4 separate regions of the Homo sapiens genome follow, and all the other regions are linked to region 3. Evidence: promoter capture Hi-C in 16 types of primary human blood cells and fetal thymus (Javierre and others, 2016). All regions are on one chromosome and are shown on one strand. Each heading gives the region's core, a stretch centred on a gene start or on the middle of the fragment in contact. The rest is flanking DNA. Distances are from core to core; before and after follow the strand shown. Region 1 overlaps SPATA13 (spermatogenesis associated 13). Region 2 holds the start of USP12 (ubiquitin specific peptidase 12). Region 3 holds the start of MTMR6 (myotubularin related protein 6). Region 4 has its middle 4.2 kb from the start of RPL21.

Region 1 (4,080 bases), core at 1,193-3,692, 1.0 Mb before region 3:
AAAAAATGGAAAAATCGAGGAGTCTATATTCAGATTGTTTCGCCAGTGTCTCTGGTTTTATTGCTCAACGTTAAAGAAGCCAGAACTGGAAATCATAGCGGATGCATATGGGTGTGGATTGTACAAGAGACAATGCAGAATTCTAGTCAGTTGATCGTACACAGGGAGCCTTGTCCTACATCATGACAAAGGTGAATGATTGCACCTATGTATGCCTTAAGTTATGTTCATGGCATGCGTGCATGGGGCACTTTTTTTTGGCTTAGGGCTTTTAGGCAGCCCGATTGCTACAAGTCAGAGGACCTCAGCTCCAGGTCAAGGCTATAGCAGGATGCAGAGGAGGAGGCTGAGAGGTGGGCCTCCACTAAGTTCAGGCTGCCTGGGAGGACAGAGCCTGGGCAACTGGGAGCCACTGAGGGCTTTTGAGGGCCATGAGATGATCAGATGTGCATTCAGAGAGATCATTGGCTGGATCGTGGAGGACTGGAGACCTCGGGAGTCTGTTGCCTCGGAAAATGATAGTGGCACTGGAGATATGAAGAACCGAGAGGTCGAGGTAATTGTCTGGATGTTTGGGGCCAGGGAGCAGCCATCCGTGCTGCCTCTGATGCCTGGCTGACAAGGAGCCTAGGAGAAGAGCATGTTGGTCAATTGGGGAGCTTACTCCATTCCAGGCAGGTCAAGTCAGAGCGACCTATGGGCAGCTCGATGAAGATGACATCACCATATCCTTGATTGTGAAGCTCTGATTTTGAGGAAGGGGACCCAAAGTTAGAGATGAAGATTTGGGAGTCATCAGCAAAGTGGTTCTTAAAACTCTAGGAAGGAGTGTGATATGAGTGGGGGTAAAAATGAGAAGAGGATCTTGAACCATGCTCTGAGGACCAACATTTGGGGACCAGTGAAGGCAGAGAAATTCACAAAGAAAATAGAAAAAAAGTAGCCAGGCAGGTAAGCGGTGTCCCAGATGTCAAAGGAAGCCAGGGCTTCCAGGTGTGAGAGTGGTTCACACTGTCAAATGCACCAAAGTGTAGAGAGAAAAATACCCACTGGATCCAGTGGCAGGGAGGAGCTTCGTGCCCTTAAAAAAAAAAACCGGTTTCAGTTCAGCAGTTCAGTGCTAGGGCAGAATGCCATGGGAGGATGTTGGGGGAGTTGTCTTAAAATTGAGGTATTTTATCTATTTTGCTTAAGCTGTGTTGATGGTTTTCTCATTTTATAGTTCAAAATACCCCATAAAGGCTCAGGACTAATGAAAAACAATTTATTAGGCTATGATATTAACAATTATTTTGTCTATGTATTACCAGTATCTGAAAGCTTGTTAGTATGAATGTGTCAGCGTTTATTCTCACTGAATGTTTTTCAAAGAGATGGGAAGATTACACATCAGAAAATTCCGTTTCTTGATTTAGAATTGATATTAATCCCCAACATTTAGGAAGTAGGGGAATTTAATCATAGGAAGTGCTTATGTTGTTTCAAATTTGATTTTTTAAATAAAATTAATTGAATTATGAGAAATTACTGAAACTTATTTCTTTGAAAAGTCTTGTAGTAAAGAAATTTATTCAAATTCTTTGTATTTTTTTTGTTTGTTTAAAACAAAGTTTTTTTTCTTTTTTTTTTTTTAGCTCTTTTGTGGTTGTTAAAATCCTACTTCTAATTTGTTGGAATAACAAATTTATGCACTGATAGTTTGATCAGATCACACCACGTTTCTGTTTTTTCTTAGGACTGTCAATAAAATAAGGCAGTAAGAATTCTTGATTCATAGCCTAAGTGCATCACAAAAGGGAGGTTACTCATACAGTTATTCTGGCCTTATTCTGTCCTAATTATTATGAAAGTTAATTTTCTTATTAACAGACCTTTGGGTCAAAAAGTGAGAGTGTAATCCCAATCCTTGGGCAAGTCACTTAATCTCAAAGTCTTCATGTCTTTATCTGTAATGGGAGAAACTAATATGATCTGTCCCACAGATGTGGAAGAATGACCTGGCACACAGTAAGTGTGCAGTAACTATTACTAATTAATTAGGGAAGCATTAACTATACAGGGGACAAAGGCAATGATGAGCAGGAAACTGTTTACATCCAGAGTTCTGAGTTACTGATTTAACTGCACTAATCAGTGACTTAGCTTAGACAAGTCATTTAGTCTACTTAGTAAAGTCCCAGAGCACTTGGAGTCTATATGGAATAATATACTGTTTATTATCCAAATATAAGTTAAGCAAATTTAAAATACATACGTTCAGGTTATTTTAAAAAAAAAGAAACTTGACTGGGTCTTTTTTATAGATTCTCTGGGCTGCAAATTTTAGGTATTATCTAATGATTTTTCGTTGTATCACCCAGAGACTCCACTGAATTTTTTGTTAAAAGGAAGGAAAAAAAGAAAAGCCGTAGCAGGTGTTGAGGTGTGTGTGATACCTTTGAAATGACTTTAAGCATCCCATAACATCTTTTTGTTCTCTTGTTTTTTGAATTATCTCTTGCTGCTTCTGCATTTTACTCAAATCGATTTTCAAATATTTTCTTTCAATAAAGAATCAGAGGGAAAATAGGAACTTGGGATTTACTTGCTTAGTGCCTGTTGCGTGATAGCAGCGGAGCTCTCAGGAAAGCTGGTTGGAGAATTGGTGATGGAGCACTTGGATTGTTAGGTGGGGATGCCGTGAGCCTTGCCACGTTCCCTTCTCCCCCTACATCTCACTTTATACTCATGCCAAGGAATATTGGCTGTTGATTATACAGTCATCCCTGGTTGTCTGAGGGGGATTGGTTCCAGGACTCTTCAGGCATCAGACTCCAAGGCTGTGCAAAAGTCCCTGATATAAAATGGCCTAATAATTGCATATAACCCATGCCCATCCTCCATATACTTTAAATCACCTCTAGATTACTTAAAGACCTAATATTAATGCAATGTAAATGCTATGTAAATAGTTGTTATGCTGCATTGTTTAGGGAATAGTTACAAGAAAAAAAGTCTGTACATATTCAGTACAGTCACAGTTTTTTAAATGTTTTCAATCTGCAGTTGGTTGAGTCCACAGATGTGTAACCCACAGATACGGAGGACCAACTGTGTTTACTTACAAAACGAGATGAATCAATTCACTTATCAGTACTCGCAGCAAGTGTTTTCCTGACTGCTAAGACTGCCTATGGTAAAATCCCTGTCTTCTGACTGCTGTGAGACAGCCTGGATTCCACAGAGTCCGAAGGAATTTAGAAATTATGAAAGGCTTCTGTGTGCAGAACAAGGACTACAAATATGGCCTTTAGTGCCCAAAACCATATTGTCTGCAAGTCTTGGAGATTGTATTAGCTCCATAGCAGTTATCTTAGCTGTTGTTTCATGCCTCATTGTTGCCTATCATCGAGATTTTTTAGAAGGAATATAGTGTTCTATTTCTTGTCTCAGAAAAACATAAAGTATTAAACTTTTTTTTTAGCAAGCTCATGAAATTTCATCTTCTAGCAGTTAAAACATTCTCAGTTCTCAACAGCTAGAGTTAAAAAGTAAAAGTTATTGAAAATATCGTCTGTCTTATTACTAAGCTTCAGAAATTGGATTTTAAAAGAAGAAGAAAGAATATTAAAAGTCAGAGGAAGGAGAGCAAGACAGCTAAATGTCTAGCGAACCACCACCAAGAGCCAGTAGCACTCTGTACGTATTCCTGGCCTGATCTTACAGACAAGGTCAGGCCTTAGAAATATTCGGTAACTTTTCCTAGCTTGGCTAAGCAAGATGTAATGAGTAGATAGTGGAGCTAGCATTCAAATGAGATCAAACTGAAAAACACAGATTGCTTTCCATTCTATTCAGTTTCCCGTATGTTTTCTCCATCACAAAACACAATATTGTCTAATTGATTTGCACAAAGATATGCCTGTTGGCAGTTTTAAAGACCATGTCCCAATAATTGCCTTCTATTAAGACAAAGAAAAAAGTTATATTCCTCCAATCCCTGTTGTGTTCTTGTTATGTTTGAAATGTGCTTGGTCCTAAGGATCTGAAAATAACCAGGTAAATACAGAAAAGAAGTGAAATCTGTACTAGGCCCTGAAG
Region 2 (4,026 bases), core at 1,250-3,749, 1.9 Mb after region 3:
CAAAGAACAACTTTTTTCGGTGATGACTCATAAATTATGATCCCTACATATAAGCTCATGAGGAACTAATGAAACGAATTTGTCTCATCATGTGGAAAACTGTGGTCCTTCTGGCCACGCACAAAACACCAAGTTTTAAACGCGCCCACGTTTTGCTTAATTCGGGACTTCCAGCGGGCATTAGCACTTTTCCCTTACAGTCTATTTAAACGCCCTAGGAAAACAAATACCATCGCCTTGGCAGGCGGTCCCCGCACAGACAGACCTAGCTCCAGCCACATACAGATGTGTCTGGTGGGCTGAAGTAAACAAATGACAGGAAAGCTAATGCTGCTTTTCAAGATTAACGTGCATTCCCAGAGACAAGACTGCCACCTGGACACACGGCTGGAAACGGGAGAGCTCGTGCCTCTCAGAGGAGAAAATGGAGAGAATTTCAACAGTACTTATTTAAAGTTTCCACCTTCACACACGCCCCTTTCCCCCAGCGCGGGGTCGGGGACTCGGCCCAGCCAGCGGCGCGAGGAAATCTGCACTTGACTTCCGTCCTCTCCCAGGCGGGAATGAGCGCTGCCCGCCCCGGCCGAGACCCTTCCTTCCTGCCCGCCGACCCCCACCCCTCCCGGGGACCCCTCCCGCTCGGCGCGCGACCAGAAGGAAATGGAGCCCGCGCGGCTCCGCGCCCCCTCCCCGACGACCCCGGCCCGGGGCCGCGCTCTGGCTCGCGCGCGCCCACCCCTCACCCCGGCACAGGCCGGGCGCGCCTCGGCCCTCGTCCCCGCGTCCCGAGCGGACCCCAGCAGTTCAGCCGGGGACTCCCGGAGGCCGGTGCCCGCCCGACGCCGCGTCTGGCACGGTCGCCCACTCACCGCTACCCTCGCGCCGCCCTGGCCCACCAGGCGGCGCCCCCTCCCCAGCCGCCTGGGCCGCTCACCCCCGCGCTCCCCGCCTGCGCGCCGTCCAACCGCCCCCGCCCGGGCCGCCCGGGCCGCCCAGCCCGCCCGCCCGCCCCGGCGCTAGGCCCCGCGAGCGGCCACTGGGAGAGGCGGGTCCAGCGCCGCCCGCCCGCCCGAGAGGTCCCGGCAGCCCCGGCCGCCCGCTCGCCGCCACCTACCATGGTACAGATGGAGGCGAATTTGGAGACTGTCATTAGGATTTCCATCCGGCCAGCGCCATCTTCCACCCAATCACAGCGGCGGCGGCGGGCGGGGGAGGAGGGGAGCCGGGCCGCCCGCTCGCACCGCAGCCCGCGGGCGGACCCCGAGCCGCCGCGGACCCAACCACCGAGCCCGCTGGGCCGCCGCTGCCGTCGTCGCCGCCGGCGCTCAGGCACTCCCGGCCTCGGGCCCCAGCCCCCGCCTGCCGGCCGCCGGCCCGCCCCCGGCTCCGCCCCGGCGCAGGGCGCAGCCGCTGCCTCCGGGCCCGCGCCTGCACGCGAAGCCGCCCTCCGCCCACCCCGCCCAGCGCACAGGGGAGCGGGCTCCGCCGAGGCCCTAATGCCCGGCCTGCCAGGCAGCGGCGCGGCCAGGCGGCGCAGCCCCGCCCACCCCTCGGCAACCCCTCCGCGGCCCTTGTGCGCGAGCCGGGGAACTCCGGTCCGTCCCCACCCCGCGCGCGGCAGAGGGCAGGACCGAAGGCGGGCGCCACCTCCTGCCCGCGTCCCTGCGGTCCTAGAGCCGGGGACCCAGAGACCCCCGCGTAGGAAGGGGTGCGGCGGGGAGGCGCGGGGGTGGCGGCGGCGATCTGGGAGAACCCTGGAGGGGACCAGCTGCGACACCCACCGCGGGCGAGGGGACGGCGAGCCCCCGCTGCCTAAACAGAAAACGGAGGCGATGATCTGGGTAACTACGGGCGGAGTGGGAGGAAACCTGCTCTGCACAGTTAAGATAACCCGGGTATGCGTCCCAAGCACTTGGTTTGTTTCTTTTTACGTATATTGGATGAATCACCGGAGTCAAACACAACTTAGAAAAAGACAAAATAATTAAACAAAAATGAAGAGGCAAAGAACAAATTACACATGTTTAACTCTTTGAATTAAGAAGAAAGATAAGTAATGGGGGAAGGAGAGGAGCGAAACCTGTTGGCCTGTTGGCGATAAATTTATAATAGGCTTCTAAATATCTGCACATTGAGCTGCAAAATAGGGAGGATCTCAAGCCAGCAGTGATGATGATATTACCAGAGACAGGAAGCCCGCAAGCAAGAAAAATGCCCTGTGAGAAATCCTTAGGCAGTGCTGGCTACTGGCATGGGTAGTTCCTCTTTCTCCTTTTATAAAATTCATATTTGCACCCTGTTCTTCATGCCTGGCAGCTCAGCTTTATTTTTTCCTATTTGAGAAAGTAGTTCAAGTGAGTAGAATAACTTCATAAATTATTATGTTAGAAAGCTTGTGATATTTTCTGATTGAACTCGTGATGGGGTACTTTTCTGGGTTCCCCTAATTCAGTGGGGTTGAGGATCTGAATTCAGGCAGAGCTGTAAAATCAGAAATGCCTCACCTCAAGGGTTCAAAGCACTCAAAAACAAAAAGCATTCAAACAAAATTTAAGTGAAAAATAGACTTCTGGTACATGAATACTGTTTCCATAGTGATTCCATTATAAGCTTGCTTGGGGGGGGAATGCAGATTGAATATAGCCAAGCCCCATGGTAGCCGGACTGGATCTCCAAGCGCCTGCCTCCATGGAAGCCAAGAGCCCTGATACCCCAGCCAGGGGCTTTCCTCTCTATACTTGCAAGCATCACCCACCTGAATTCTTTCTTGCTCTTTTCTACCCCCTGTTTGGACAAGGGTTTCTACATCTTAGACCTCTAGGGCCTACCTGGGCCTTGTCCGAGTGTCACCATGCCCATCTGTGTGCCCGTCCTGATAAATAGCTGTGGTCATCCTGTCCTTCCCACTTGCTGTTCTATTCCAGCAAACAGGTCTGATGTGCCAGAATTTTAGACCTGCCTCCATCCCGCTAACCACCCATATGCCTCCTTGTCCATTAATCCGAACATGTCACAGGAACAAAAGCCACTGGCTTTACATATAAGTTTATATAAGAACAAGGCCTTTCTAAAATGAATTTCTAGGCTGAGTATGGTGGCTCACACCTGTAATTCCAGCACTTTGGGAGGCCGAGGCAGGTGGATCACTTGAGGTCAGGAGTTGGAGACCAGCCTGGCCAACGTGGTGAAATCCCGTCTCTACTAAAATACAAAAATTAGCCAGGCGTAGCAGTGTACGCCTGTAATCCCAGCTACTCAGGAGGCTGAGGCATAAGAATAGATTGGATCCTGGAGGTGGAGATTGCAGTGAACTGGGATTGTGCCATTGCACCCCAGCCTGGGTGACAGAGTGAGACTCTCTCAAAAATAAATAAATAAATAAATTTCTAGGCTGGGCACAGTGGATCAGGCCTGTAATCCCAGCACTTTGGGAGGCTGAGGCAGGAGGATGGCTTCCAACTTCCTTGAGACCAGGGAGTTCAAGACCAGCCTGGGCAACATAGTGAGACCTTGTCTCTACTAAAAATAAAAATAAATACGTGGTGCATGGTGGCGCATACCTATAGTCCCAGCTACTTGTGAGGCGAAGTAAGAGGATAACTTAAGCCCGAGATATCCAGGTTGCAGTGAGCCATGATTGAACCACTGCACTGTAGCCTGAGCGACAGACTGAAACAGTATCTCAAAAATACAGCACAGTGGCTCTCGCCTGTTGTAATCCCAGCACTTTGGGAGGCCAAGGCGGGCGGATCACTTGAGGTCAGGAGTTTGAGACCAACCTGGCCAACATGGAGAAAGCCCATCTCTACTAAAACTACAAAAATTAGTTGGGCATGGTGGCGAGCACCTGTAATCCAAGCTACTAGGGAGGCTGAGGCAGGAGAGTCGCATGAACCTGGGAAAAACCAGTGAGCCGAGATCATGCTACTGCACTCCAGCTTGGGCGACAGAGTAAGATTCCGTCTCAAAAATTAAATTAAATTAAATTTTAAAAAGTAAAATGGATTTCTGATAGAATTATCTGGA
Region 3 (4,463 bases), core at 1,781-4,280:
ATAATATTGTATAATTGGCTATATTGACATATAGTTGCTCAATAAATGGTAATTATTACTTTTCAAATAGAGCTGACTGAACAACAAAAATCACTAAATAGTCATAAAGGACACTCTACGGTCAATTTTGATCCTAATGACTAAACTACATAGAGGTCAAAACAGCTAATAAATCTAAAACAATCCACTTTTGCTTTTTAAATACTTACACTTATTTTTGCAGCAAACTAACTAAATCCAGGTGAAGGCTATGCATAATGGAAACAAAAGTTTGGCTATGTTCAAACCAATCTTTTAAAAGTAAGTTATTTCCCAATACATTAATAATTTAAGAACATGTTACAGTCCCCACAACAATTAACAGAATGTACCCTGAGGTCCACCTCTATCTTGCTGTTATATACCCAGTGTCAATACAGTGTCTGGCACATACTAGGTACCTAGAAAATATTTATTTGCGGTCTACATACACTCACTTAATATTACTCCAGAGTAGTGATCCAATACTAGAAAAACAACCCAAAGTAATAAAGGAGCATATTTGAAAAGTAGTTTTAATAGACAATTCATCAGAAATTTCTTAGTCTCTAAAAAGGCCTTATTAAACCACTAGCATGAGACCACTGTGTAAAGATAAGTCAAAATCAGAGCATTACTTGAAGAAAAGTTCATCAGTTGGTAGATAAGGAGGAATATCAGACAAAATGAAAGTCACCAGTGACAACTTTCAAAGAGCTAATAAGAGGGGCTACAACTCTACAAATAAAAACAAAGATATATATTCATAATAAATTGAATGAGGAAAGATTTAAAATAACCAAGGGATCCTAAATATTTTCCAAGTCTGTTCACTCTTATCATCCACCTAAGAATAGGATTTGCTCTAGTTGATCAGATTCAGTTTACTTTTACTGATTTTTTATTCTTTTCCGCCCCCCCCCCCCCAATTATGTCACCCAGGCTGGAGGGCAATGGCGCAATCTTGGCTCACTGCAACCTCCACTTCGTGGGCTCAAGCCATCCTCCCATCTCAGCCTCCCGAGTAGCTGGGACTACAGGTACATACCACCCCACCCGGCTTTCTTTTTTTTTTTTGAGACTGAGTCCCGCTCTATTGCCCAGGCTGGAGTGCACTGGTGCCATCTTGGCTCACTGCAATCTCCACTTCCCCGGTTGAAGCAATTCTCCTGCCTCAGCCTCTGAGTAGCTGGGATTACAGGCGCCTGCCACCATGCCCGGCTAATTTTTGTATTTTTAGTAGATATGGGGTTTTGCCAGGTTGTCCAGGCTGGTCTCGAACTCCTTACCTCAAGTGATCCGCCCACCTCGGCCTCCCACAGTGCTGGGATTACAGGCGTGAGCCACCGTGCCCAGCCTTTTACCGGTTTTCGATTGTGTGCTATGCACCGTAGAAAGCATATGAAAAATAGAGGAGCTTCGAACTGATGCAGAAGGAAGTCACGTGCACTTAGCTACTACATAATACATATCTGGAACCAATACAAGAACCTGATCCAATGTCCACTCTAGTCCTCTTTTCCTCTGTGCACCTTCTACGAGTTTGGTTATAGACTTAAGCACCCTTCCATTTTCAAAATTTAAGTACCCACAACTTGAATTCTCAAGTTATTTTATCTTTCTTCTCTTAAAAAAAAATGTTAAGGGGTTAGTTTTCAGAATCTTCAATTTTACTAGATACGGTATGCACAATGTTAAAGACAAGCTCCAATAAAAATTTATGTATACCTTTAAAAGGTTTGTGAAACATTTAAAAAATTTTTAAAAACACAAATTCTTCTTGGAACAATGAAGATAACGAACATCTGTGGTTCCCTAAATGAGCCGTAATTTTAAGATGGGCAGCAACTAAAGGGCTTCAGCTTTGCCAAAACGTCAAGAGGCTGCCTTGCAGTGGGCTCGCAGTGATTTTAAAATGTTATTCTTCTCGTCTCGATTTATGTTTTTCTCCCTCTCAAAGTTAAACTTAAATGTCGTTGGAAACGTAATTTGGTAACATTCTGATGTCATTTCCTTCCGTTTTTAAATTTGTAACGAAATAAAAATATTTGTTCGTTCTCAAAATGAAGGTCTTCCACACACAAAAATTAAGCATGGAGTGCAATAAGGTCAATCGAATAAAGCTGCATCCGACCTTTTAAAATATGGAATAACATTTTTCCCTTCTCCAGAACTCTTGACTACTGACACAGGACAATGCCTGAAGTATGAAGCACAGACACGGAAACACCGGATGCGAAAGACTGGAGACCGAGACAGCAAAGGGAGGTGGAGCGGAGTGCTGATCTCGGTTCCTCCAAAACTCGTACTGTGAATCTGTGACACGGGACAATGAAATGTGAGCAAGGACAAGCTTACACAGCATCATAATGTTAATTTGAAGACGGTTTTCCGGTTGATGAGGCAACGAAAGGCTGAAAGACTCCAAAGTTAAAGGAGCCCCAATTTTGCCCGAGAAAACGTAGAGCTAGGAGGGCGGTGACCAGTTTTCCCAGACTTATCTCTACGCACTCCAAGATGCTGAAAGTGGGACCCCTGCTCCTGTAGGTACAGGAGGCCTCTGCACCCCGCTTGGCCCAAGCTAACCCTGCCCTCCCAGACCAGGCCTGGCCAGACCCTCCCGCCCCGGGCCGGGTCTCCGCCGGGCCGGCTCCCAGCCCCAGTCAGGCCAGCAGAGCCTTCGTCTCCTCCTGCCTCAGCCGGGTCAGAGCAGGGCCCCTGAAGACTGGCGATCCCGCGCCCGACTACCTTGGTCGTCCGGATATGCTCCATCGCAAGGAGACGTCAGCCGGCAGCCGGTCTCACAGGCGTACCATACGGCTACAGAAACAGGGCGGTGACAGCGACAGAGAGCAAGCGGGAACTCCCTCCACCAGCCAGCGCCGCGGGTCTGTCTGCCGGCCCCGGTGGCGTCAACGGCGCAGGTGCAGCCGGTGAGCGCCGTCTCCTAGAAACACTTCCCCAAACCCCGCGGCCTCCCGGGGGACTCGGGGCAGGCAGACAGAGCGTGTGTGGACCGAGAGCGGCTTGCTGGTTCGTCCCGGACAGCGGCGGATCCCACAGCGCCCCCTGCTGGAGGAGGCCGGTACTGCTCACCACCCCACCCGAGGCGGTCTTTGTCATCCCGCCGAGCGGACGCGCGGGGCGGTCGGGGAGGAAGACTGCGTGAGAATGGATCCCGAGTAAAGGGTTCTTGTGGGGTGAGGGCAAGAGTGGAGGATGTTCTGAAGTCCATCGCCATACCACTGGACAGCACCAAATTTAGTTTGAGCTGCAGTTCTACTCATAAGAATGTATTCTAAGGAAATAATCAGATTTGGAGTTATTATTCTAAGGAAATAACCAAATAAGGAAACCAGCCTTATTTGAAACAATCAACTCTCCAATCCTACGGATTCCTTATGTAAAGTATGATGATTAGCTAGTCCTCAATCTGGTCTGGTGTCAGAGTCCCGCCTCCTACCTCAATTTCATACGATGTTAGCACCAGCATCCATTAAAACTCATCCTGTAGAGGGATATCACATAACGAAAATGTTAATGCTGCATTACTGAGTGAAGAAAAAACTGACTATGGAACAATAAGTTCAATGTAGCCGTGCTCTGTAATTTTTATTTATGTAAACAAAAAGTTTACATTTCTAGGTGAGGGTTACAGGTAATTTTTGTTAGAACACGTCTAATGTGGTACTTCTCAGCCTGGAGTGAGTTTTCTCCCCGGGGGACATTTGGTAACATCTGGAGATATTTTTGGTTGTCTCAAATGGTGGTGGTGGGGGGGTGGCGGCGGGGGGCAACTGGTGGGTGGAGGCCAAGTCACAAGTCGGCTGCTGAACACCCTACTAGGCACCAGACCAACCCCCCAACTACAGGGAATTATCCGGCAGATGACAACAGTGCAGAGGTTGAGAAACCCTGCTCTATGCCAGGCGCGGTGGTTCACGCCTGTAATCCCAGAACTTTGGGAGGCTGAGGCGGGCGGATCACTTGAGGTCAGGAGTTAGAGTCCGAGAAACTCTGCTCTACGTTTTGTAAGTATTCTGTACTAAGCCGGTTAAGGTTTGTAATCTTCATCTTTCATACTGTGATTGGTGTTAGAAAAGCCTAACATCTAAATTTTCTTTTATAATTAAAAATTTTGTTTCACTTATTTGTTTCATTTTGTTCAAGTTGTCTTGGTTTGTTTTGTTTTGAGTGCCTACGATGTTTCAGACAGATTGCCAAAGCAATGGAGATGGTTATTAAACACAACAGCCTTTGCGGTGGAGTTGCTGACTCCTCTAAGCTAAATATGTAATAAGAGTTACATTAAACCACCTAGAAACCAACCTTAGTACAGTATCACATCCACCCCCTCCCCCCGAAAAAAAACCCCACAAATCCTGCTCAGAAAAAAAAAAAAATATATATATATATATATATACACATATATATATATATATATA
Region 4 (3,943 bases), core at 1,431-3,930, 2.0 Mb after region 3:
CTCTACTAAAAATACATAAAGATTAGAAGGACGTGACGGTGCACGCCTGTAGTTCCAGCTACTCGGGAAGCTGAGGCAGGAGAACTGCTTGAACCCAGGAGGCAGAGGCTGCAGTGAGCCAAGATTGTGCCACTGCACTCCAGCCTAGGCAACAAAGTGAGACTCCATCTCAAAAAAAAAAAAAAAAAAAAAAAGAAAGTGAGAGAAGTCTAGCATAGCTGACTCCATTTTGCTTCCAGCCTCACAGGCTCGATTCAGCATTCTTTGGCACCTTGGTAAGAACCTTCACCATCTGCCTTTTGGCTTTATTTCCCATCACTCTTGTCTTGCATGGGCAACACCACACTGCTTGTACTCACCGTCACATGCTACATTGTCTTCTACGATGGAATGCTCTTTTGTCTTCATCTAACGCCCATTCATGTTTTAATGTCTTGGGCATCACTTCTCTTAGGAAGCCTCTTTCGGGAATCAAGAAGATGAGAAAGATCAAGCTACTGAAGAACAAAGGGAACAGCATGCATAACGATCCCAAGACTAGAAAAAACTTGAAGTATTTACGGAATTGAAGAAGGCAGAGAGAGACACAAGAAAGTGAGGGAGACAGGAATCTGAAAAGATAAGCACGATCTAGTTTATACAGGACTTTGTAAGACAAGGTAAGGAATTTAGATTTTATTCTAAGAGCAACAGAAAGCCTGTGGAGGGCTGTAAGCAAGGGTGTGATATAATCAGGTTTATATTTTTAAAAGATCACCCTGGCCACTATATAGGAAATGGATAGAACAGGGGCAAGAGAGGAAAAAAAAGTGACCATAAAGATGCCATTGCTGTAGTTCAGAATAAGACGTATTAGTGGCGTGGCCACAGAGATGGGAAGAGGTAGGTCAGCTGGAGATACATTAATATATTAATATTTTACAATCAGAACTGGAACAAAACTTTCCAATGGATTCCATACGGAAGGGATAAAGGGAAACTTAAAGGCAAAACCAAGGTTTCTTGATTATGCTATGTACTGAATGGAAAATATTGGAGCAGAAACAGGCTTCAGGGTAAAAATCAAGTTTTTTTGTTGTTGTTTTCTTGTTTGAGACAAAGTTTCACTTTGTCGCTCCAGCTGGAGTGCAGTGGCATGAACACAGCTCACTGTAGCCTCAACCTCTGGGCCCAAGTGATTCTCCTGCTTCAGCCCCGCAAGCAGCTGGGACTATGGGCGCATACCATCACACCCTGCTAATTTTTGTATTTTTGTAGAGACAGGGTTTCACCATCTTGCCCAGACTGGTCTCGAACTCCTGTGCTCAAGCACTCTGCCTGCCCCGGCCTCCCAAACTGCTGGGATTACAGGTGTGAGCCACTGCATCTGGCAGAAAATAAAAAGTTTTATGAGCTAGGCATAGGGGTTCACGCCTGCAATCCCAGCTCTTTGGGATGCCAATGTGGGAGGATTGCCTGAGCTCAGGAGTTCAAGGCCAGCCTGGGCAACAAAAGGAGACTCCATATCTACAAAAGAATTTTTACAAATTAGCCAGGTGTGGTGGTGCATGCCTGTGATGCCAGCTACATCAGTGGCTGAGGCAGGAGGATGGCTTGAGCCCAGGAGGTTGAGGCTGCAGTGAGCCATGATCATGTTCCTGCACTCCAGCCTGGGCAAGAGAGCAAGACCCTGTCTCCAAAAGAAAAAAAAAAAAAGTATATCTAAAACTTAAAAACATCCCATAAAAACTTACAACACATCCCATAAGGTTATACCAAGGGTATAAACGTTGGTCTATAGTCCTCAGTGAGACTTCTAAATAAAACTAATTATGTAAAAGCTTGATTTTTTTTTTAAGTTGACAGAAGGTAAGCAAATTAACTGGGGAACTGTAGTGGGGATGTTAAACAGTAGAGTACCCACATACAATTAATTTTGGCTACTCTAGGCACGCTGCCTATGGGATAGCCCTGCTCCACAAGGAGCAGTTAAAAAAAAAGAAAAGAAAAATAAAAGATTTGGACATGTTGAGATGCTAAAGAGTATCCAAGAATAGATATCAAGTTGAATAGCAATCTTGAGGAAAGGCTGGAATCACATAAATCAATCTGGTAGTAAGCAACACAGAGATGAAATTTAAAATTATAGGAGTAAATGGAATTAACCAGGAAGGCAGTACAGAAAGAGAAGAGCAGGGGCCTAGCTCCAAGACCCAGGGAAATGTAGTCTTTATAGGACAGGGAGAGGAGGGAAAATCAGCAAATCAGACTGTGGAGTGGTGAGGAAGGGTAGTGTTTCATGGAGGAAGAGCTGGCCAACAGAGTCCAGTGCTTTGCGGAGATCAAGAAAGGAAAGAACAGGGAATGTCTTTTGGCTTTGGCAACATATAAGCAGTTGATGCCCTGACAAGAGCAGCTTTAATGACATGACTAGAACAGAAGTCAAATGAAACTGAAGCTGAATGAAAGATGAGGAAGAGATAATAGTGTTTATGTATTAAACTGTATGACACTGCTGAACTTTCACAATTTTTGATGTACAAAACCAAAAATTTCATGACTCCTTTTTTTTTACATTTGACAGAAGAAAAATGAACATATGGGGCAGTAGTTATAAAGGAATATGAGATCAAGCAGAATCAGAAAGAAGAGAGTTGCGGGTTTTAGTGGGGAACACCAGAGCCTGTTTGTACATGGATAAAAATGATGGAGTTGGCTGGGAGCATGTTTGTACACTGATAAAAATGAGGCAGTTGGCTGGGCGTGGTGGCTCACACCTGTAATCCCAGCACTTTGAGAGGCTGAGACAGGTGGATCACTTGAGGTCAGGAGTCCAAGACCAGCCTGGCCAACATGGCGAAACCCTGTTTCTACCAAAAATAATAAAATTAGCCGGGTGTGGTGGCACACGCCTATAATCCCAGCTACTTGGGAGGCTGAGGCATGAGAATTGCTTGAACCCAGGAGGTGGAGGTTGCAGTGAGCCGAGATCATGCCACTGCACTCCAGCCTGGGGACTAAGAGAGTCTCAAAAAAAGAGGCAGTCATCAGCTGAAAGAAAGGTGGGAGAAAGGAAGGTTTGATAATCAAAGAAATGACATGAAATAATCTTTAAATAGAATAATGTGAGACAAAATAGAAAATGTTAAGCCAGGTTTGCTTATTTCTGCTTGAACCCCTGACTGTGATGAAATGCAGCTCCTCAGGAAGAATCTTAAAACAGGATAGAGCACACGGCCCCCCGTGTCACTCGCCTGAGTTACAACGTTCCTGAAACAGTAAATGAACTTGACCTTGCCTTTTCCTACATGAAGATGTCTGACAGGGTTAGTGATTATGCTTCTACAATCTATAACCAAATTACTTTAGTAATCTATAAACTGATGTACTCTTACACCCAAACTTTAATGAGATTTCACACATACAGAACCCCCACAACCTACATAGAAGCAATGGGCTGAGGGACCACTTTGGAGCCCTGTGAAAGAACTGCCCTCAGGGTATAAACCTTGGTCTACAGTCCTCAGTGAGACTTCTGAATAAAACTAACTTTAATTATGTAAAAGCTTAATTTTTTTTTTGACAGCAGGTAAGCAAATTAACTGGGGAACTGTAGTGGGGATGCTAAACAGTACAGTACCCATTTGTTAAGGGTTGGTCGTGAATTTATGGGAGAGGCTAAAAACACAAATGCCAACAGGAGCCAGGCAGGTAAATGACTGAAGCAGGCTGAGTGATGAAGGAACTCAAGAATGAATGCCCCATCTAAAGGGGAAGCCAGTGGAGTGGCCATCAAGACTATCAGCTCTATGCTGCCAGATCTCCTGATTTCTCAAGGGAAGCCAGAAATCTTTTTTTTTTGATATGTTAATTTTTAAAACACTCTATGGGCTCAAAAAAATATTTCCAAGTGCAAAAAAATATAGTGCATGGATGACTAGTTTCTGATTTGTCATCACACCAG

Evidence for each region. Contacts are between HindIII fragments. The CHiCAGO score rates a contact against its expected background, and 5 or more counts as called.
Region 1: a contact is called between a fragment that was not itself captured here and the fragment with the promoter of MTMR6 in region 3, in 1 of 17 cell types (total CD8 T cells). The highest score is 5.6, in total CD8 T cells.
Region 2: a fragment that was not itself captured here is called in contact with the fragment with the promoter of MTMR6 in region 3 in 1 of 17 cell types (total CD8 T cells); the score reaches 5.2 in total CD8 T cells.
Region 4: a contact is called between a fragment that was not itself captured here and the fragment with the promoter of MTMR6 in region 3, in 1 of 17 cell types (neutrophils). The highest score is 6.1, in neutrophils.

Annotation. Positions count from the first base shown.
Region 1 is chr13:24,260,691-24,264,770 of GRCh38, forward strand. The region is part of intron 4 of SPATA13 (spermatogenesis associated 13); the gene reads left to right. Among named protein-coding and RNA genes, the nearest start is that of SPATA13-AS1, 8.3 kb to the left of the region's middle. The HindIII fragment of the contact is 2,249 bases long and covers 1,319-3,567 here.
Region 2 is chr13:27,170,478-27,174,503 of GRCh38, forward strand. USP12 (ubiquitin specific peptidase 12) reads right to left here and starts at 1,334. Exons shown (of 9, transcript NM_182488.4): 1 at 1,115-1,334. The coding sequence starts at 1,162. USP12-DT (USP12 divergent transcript) reads left to right here and starts at 1,782. Exons shown (of 2, transcript NR_046548.1): 1 at 1,782-1,895. RefSeq lists enhancers at 311-420, 1,921-2,110 and silencers at 661-710, 741-810, 881-970, 1,031-1,080, 1,221-1,860. The HindIII fragment of the contact is 218 bases long and covers 2,391-2,608 here.
Region 3 is chr13:25,284,458-25,288,920 of GRCh38, forward strand. It overlaps MTMR6 (myotubularin related protein 6), which reads right to left and starts at 3,031. Exons shown (of 14, transcript NM_004685.5): 1 at 2,767-3,031. The coding sequence starts at 2,790. RefSeq lists enhancers at 2,411-3,031, 2,735-3,074, 3,175-3,344. The HindIII fragment of the contact is 4,901 bases long and covers 2,370-4,463 here.
Region 4 is chr13:27,245,401-27,249,343 of GRCh38, forward strand. No RefSeq gene overlaps it. Among named protein-coding and RNA genes, the nearest start is that of RPL21, 4.2 kb to the right of the region's middle. The HindIII fragment of the contact is 1,725 bases long and covers 1,819-3,543 here.